Linked DNA regions of Homo sapiens: region 2 is linked to region 1. The links are contacts of gene promoters, found by promoter capture Hi-C in human tissues and cell types (Jung and others, 2019). All regions are on one chromosome and are shown on one strand. The core of a region is centred on a gene start or on the middle of the fragment in contact, and the rest is flanking DNA. Distances in the headings are between cores, read along the strand shown.

What was found. The method cuts DNA at HindIII sites, captures the fragments that hold promoters and counts their contacts. A contact is called where the count stands out against the background at its distance.
Region 2: a fragment that was not itself captured here is called in contact with the fragment with the promoter of SPAG6 in region 1 in 1 of the 25 tissues and cell types used here (dorsolateral prefrontal cortex).

What each region holds. Positions count from the first base shown.
Region 1 is chr10:22,344,189-22,346,922 of GRCh38, forward strand. It overlaps SPAG6 (sperm associated antigen 6), which reads left to right and starts at 1,308. Exons shown (of 11, transcript NM_012443.4): 1 at 1,308-1,448; 2 at 1,535-1,630. The coding sequence starts at 1,424. RefSeq lists enhancers at 1,157-1,376, 1,337-2,153. The HindIII fragment of the contact is 4,842 bases long and covers 1-2,734 here.
Region 2 is chr10:22,702,658-22,705,357 of GRCh38, forward strand. All of the region lies in intron 1 of PIP4K2A (phosphatidylinositol-5-phosphate 4-kinase type 2 alpha), which reads right to left. Among named protein-coding and RNA genes, the nearest start is that of PIP4K2A, 11 kb to the right of the region's middle. RefSeq lists an enhancer at 1,719-1,778. The HindIII fragment of the contact is 4,107 bases long and covers 1-2,700 here.

The DNA.
Region 1 (2,734 bases), core at 58-2,557:
TGAGCTGCAGAAGCAGAAGACATGTACCTGCCCTTCGGGGGTATTAGGGACCCGACTAAACACACTTATTCTTCTCTCTGATTGCTGGACCATTCCCCAACTATTTGGAGCTCCACAAAGTATCAGGACTTCATCAAGAGCTCAGTGAAGGGTGAGATCTCAAAGATAAATATAGAGGACTCATTCCAAATATAGAACCAGTTAAGTTTGCATGCTCCCTTCTGTTGAAGAAATATCAAGGGGTTTCCTGTCTTGGCACTACTTAGCAGCAGCTGCGGCTATGTATCCACTTGACATCTGGTGAAATTGTAGTTTTTGATGGAGGAACATTTAAAGTTGACAACTGTCATTGAAACAACTGGTATATAGTTTTCAAAGACAAGCTAGAAACCAGTAATAGACTAAGTACTTCAATTTTGTTAAAAGAAACTGGGTAAAGGGTTCAAGTTATATAAGATAGGGAAGTCTGGTTTTCCAGGTAAAGGTTCTCTCTCTTTTTCTGTTGGAGATGTCATTCATCAACATAACGAAGCCTAAATTTAAAAGACTAAGACAAAATATTTACAAATCACATAAAAGTGAGGAAACAGCAAAATTAGTAGTCATTAGGAGAAAGCCAGGGAAGACAGGACATTCATCACATCCTTTCCTCATCTGCTTTCCTCACTGAGTCTCTGAGTGCTCATTAAATGCTTTCAATACAGTGTAATTAAGTGTGTGAACATGGTTGTCATGCTCCTCCAGGAATCTTGAAACCAGGAATGCCAGGTATATAACAGCGGGTTACAAAAGAAAACACGGATTCCTAAATCAGTGTTTTACTGTCAGTGCAGTGTTAAATGTCAATGCAACACTTAAGTTGCATTGACATTCATGTGTTGATCGGATTGTACAATGTGACGTGTGAGATTTCTCGGGACCGTCGAAGCTCAGACAACTCCAGGGCTGCAATTTACTCGTCTGGCTGCCCTCGAACCAGGCTCCCTTGGCGCGTGGGGCTCTCCCGGCGCTTGGTCCCGACCCGCGCCGCAGTCAGGATACCACGGCAATCTGGGGTCGCTTTGTAAGGAGCTCCGACCTCCGGGCAGTGCAGGGATACTCGACGGCGCGCGATGTCCCGGCGGCTCCGCGAGCCTGGCGCGCTGAGAGCCCCAGCAGTCCGAGTCCTCGAGCTCGGGCGTCTTCGCGCCGCCGCCCCGCTCAGTGCGCCCAGGCACCGCGGCCGTGACGTCACGCCCGGGACTGGCCGTTGCAGCAAGACGGCCGCGTTCCGGTTCCGGTAGGTTGCCCGGGAGACGCGGGTACACAGAGAAGCGGCTCCCGTCGGAGGCCGAGTCGTCGCCACGATCGCCCCCTTGGTGGACTCGCAGGCCGAGCGGCTTCCCCGCAGAGCTCGAGGAGGGCAGACGGCGGCGGGGGCGCCATGAGTCAGAGGCAGGTGCTGCAAGGTAGGGCCGAGGCGGGCAGGTGCCCTAACTAGCTGGCGCCGAGGAGACCCGGGTGCGGTGGGCTCCACCGACTCTCTCTCCCGCAGTGTTCGAGCAATACCAGAAGGCCAGGACCCAGTTCGTGCAGATGGTGGCGGAGCTGGCGACTAGACCCCAAAACATCGAGACGCTGCAGAACGCGGGTGAGCCCGGAGCCCGAACCCCCGTCGCCCCCCGCGCACTGAGTCCCCGACGCCTCCGCCCCGCTGCCCTGCCCGTGGAGCTCTTGGGGAGCCGCAGTGTGGGGACCGGAGTTCGCAAAAGCATCCATTCTTTTCAGCGGGTCTTTGGGGGTCAGGCCGAGAGGGTGAAGCTTCCAGATGGTTGTGGGAGGTGCGCGTTGTCCCTGTTTCCATCTTCATTGCACACAGGCAAGTGTCAGGTTGAAAGTCGAGGCCCTAGGAATTGCCTGGAGTCATTTTACGTGAATGGGACTCTACCCTAATGAGACCCATTTTATCCAAGTGCCATTTTGCATGCCACCCTGCCTTTGATCACCTTCGACTTCCTCACAGCAAAGCAATTCCAGTGGTTTAGACGTGATTTCTCGTCTTGCTTTAGTGAAAGGGGAATGATATGCTTGAATCTTTTCCAAGAAATTCCAAGTAGGTAGAGACCAGACTTTGCGAAATCCTTATGGCGCGTTCCTTCTACTCCTCAGTCCGGACTCTTGCAGATGTGAGAGGGGGAGAGAGGGGGAGAGGGAGGGAGAGAGATCTTCTTATCTCATAACATAAACTGATAAGAGAAAATGGTTCTTCTTCTTCTTCTTCTTCTTCTTCTTCTTCTTCTTCTTCTTCTTCTTCTTCTTCTTCTTCTTCTTTCTTCTTCTTCTTCCTCTTCTTCTTCTTCTTTTCTTCTTTCTTCTTTCTTCTTCTTTTTTTTTGGATGATTCTACCACCATCTGAACTGTAAGGTAGCATTTTATCACTACTGTGTCATGAGAAATCTTCAGTTTATAGGATGTGATCTTTAAAACTAACACATAATTTAAACAATTAACATGTTGACAGCAAGAATACTTAAGTGTAATGATTACTCTGGGTTTCTTTGAGGGGAATTACTACTGCACCTATGTGATACTTCGTTTTGTCACTAGGATTTTTGGCATTTATTCCTTGTGTGTTTTTATTGGGGGGCATGTATTTACAATAAAGTATATTTTATAATCTTCTAAACGCATTTTAGTTTGAAATAATTGTAGATTCACAACTGTAAGGGATAATACAGAGAGATCCCGTGTACCC
Region 2 (2,700 bases), core at 99-2,598, 360 kb after region 1:
AACACACTGCACAACCCGCTCAGCAAAATGCTCTAAAATGCTCTATGCTTGATTATAACAAAAGTCAACTTTCTATGTTTATGAAAATTGAATATGGGAGGCCTCATGGTATACCACCTGAGAACTAATGGCCTACGGTTTAGAATCCCAGCCCCACTCATTCATTCAACAATATGTACTGAGCACCTACTATCTAAACACACTGTTCTAGATGCAGGGATACACCTAGTAAATAGGAAAAAGTCTCAGTTGCTATGAAACTTATTGTTCTAGTTGAGGGAGATAAGCAATAAAAATGTACACAACTCAGTTTCAAACAGTGTTAAGTGTCACAGAGAAAATAACAGTATGATAGTGGAGGGGCTCCCTTAGCTTAGGAGGTCAGAGAGGCCATCTGAGAAGGCAACCCCTTAGCTAAGAGACTAAAATAACTAATAGGAGCCAACCATCCAAAGATCTGAGGGCAGGCTGGGCATGGTGGTTCATGCCTCTAATCCCAGCACCTAGGGAGGCTGAGGCAGGAGGATTACTTGAGGCCAAGAGTTGAAGACCAGCCTGGGCAACACAGCGAGACCCCCCATCTCTTACAAAAATTATAAAAATTATCCAGGCATGGTGGTGCACACCTGTAGTCCCAGCTACATAGGAGGCTGAGGCAGGAGGATTGCTTGAGCCCAGGACTTCAAGGCTGCAGTGAGCTATGACCATGCCACTGCACTCCAGCCCAGGTAACAGAGCGAGACCTTGTCTCAAATAAAAAAATAAATAAATAAAAGAGGGAAAAACATTCCCGACGAAGAGAAAAATAAAGACTGAAGAACTGTGGCTGCTCTGAGCTTGCCTTTAGGAACAGAAAAAGCGCAGGGCAGCTGGAACATAGGAATCATGAAGAGGGTGTTATGGGATGAGGGCAAGGAGGAAAGTGGGGCCCAGGCCAGTAAGATCCTGCAGGTCAGAAAAGGTTTGGATTTTATTCTAAATGCAATGTAAAGCCTTTGGAAGGTTTAACTGAGGACATGACATGAAATCATCTACAGTTTAGCAAGATTCCTCTGCCACTGCTGCAGACAAGGTGGACTGAAACAGGGCAAAACTGAATGCCGGGAGACCAAACAGGAGGCTACCACAGTGTTCCTGAGAAAGAAGATTCAAATAGAAAGCATGTGGATTCGGGACTCAAAAATTGGATGTGGAGAAGGAGTGGGGAGAAAAAAGCATAATCAAGGTTGCTCCCTACGTTTAAGCTTGAGCACCTGGGTCTATGGTGGTCCATTTTCTGAGACGGGAAGAGGCCAGTTTAAGTTATGACAGGGGACGGGGCAGAGTGCAGGGAGGAAATCAAGAGGCCTGCTTGGGACATCTGAGATGTCTATTAGTTATTCATGTGAAGATACCTGGTAAGAAACTGCATATAGAGCCCAAGAGGAAAGTTAGAGCTGAAGTTAAAAATTTCTCAATCATGACTGTAAAATGGTATAAAAAGCCATGAGACTAAATGAAATCATGTAGGTAAAGTAAATGTAATTGTAGAAGATGATCCTGGACACAGGCCTGGGGCATTCCAACATTTCCAGACTGAGCAAAAGAGGAGCCTGCACCTAAGGAGTGGCTAGTGAAGCAGAAGGAAAACAAGAGACAAAAAAAAAGGAGCCCCCTGCATTTGAAAATGTTAGCACTGCCAGTGATGCTGACTTGAGCAGTTTCCTAGGTGTGCTGGAGGTGAAAGCTAGATTGGGGTAAGTTAAGGAGATCATCGCAGGTAAGTTGACGGTTGCCAGGTACGGTGTCTCTATAGAAATAGGAGACCTCAGCTTTAGACAAGGCTTTTCACTCCTGCTATGAAAAGGAACAGGGCAGGTGTGGTAGCTCACATGTATAATCCCAGCACTTAGGGAGTCTGAAGCAGGACTGCTTGAGACCAGGAGTTTGAGGCAGCAGTGAGCCATGATTGCACCATGCACTCCAGCCCAGGCCAAAAAGCAAGACCTCATCTGAAAAAAAAAAAAAAAAAAAAGGAACAGAAAACACGAGAAGACACTAAAATGAGAGACTAAGGGTGAAGGAGAGCTTCTGCTGTTACTGTAGTTTATTTTGCTTTCAAGATGGGCGGCCCCGGAATGGTGAGCCATGTCAGTGGAAGACACTGCAATGGTGGGAATCGTCTATATCTGCACTGTTCAATCCAGTAACCACTAACCACATGTGGCTAGTGAGCACTTGATATGAGAAACTGAATTTTAAGTTTTATTAGCTGAAATTTAAATTGCCATATATAGCTAGCAGCTACAAAACCAGGCAGGGCAGCCCCTCCAGCATGTCTGTAGACTGACGGACCCAGCTGTCCAAAATTTAGATGGGATGGTGGGAAGAGTGGAAGCTGACGGCTTCTATTTGTTCAATGCTTTCTAAATGAGGTTATATGCTGAGGGAAGGACGGGGTGGGGGAAGTGGGGGACAGGACACTAGGTGAAGTTCAAGGAGAAGTGAAAAGGAAGAAATGACTTCAGAGAGTGGAGAACATATTAAAGGAGGCAGTAACACTTCCGGGTCGAGTGTCATTTGAGATTTGTGGCAAATTTTAAAGTAACCCTGGTCAGAACTGCTGGCTTTTCTCTGGCAAACATCAACCACTTGGCCCTTCAAAGGTGGCCTCAAACTACTCTTTCAACCATCTCCTGACACTCCCTTTATGTTCCTCTG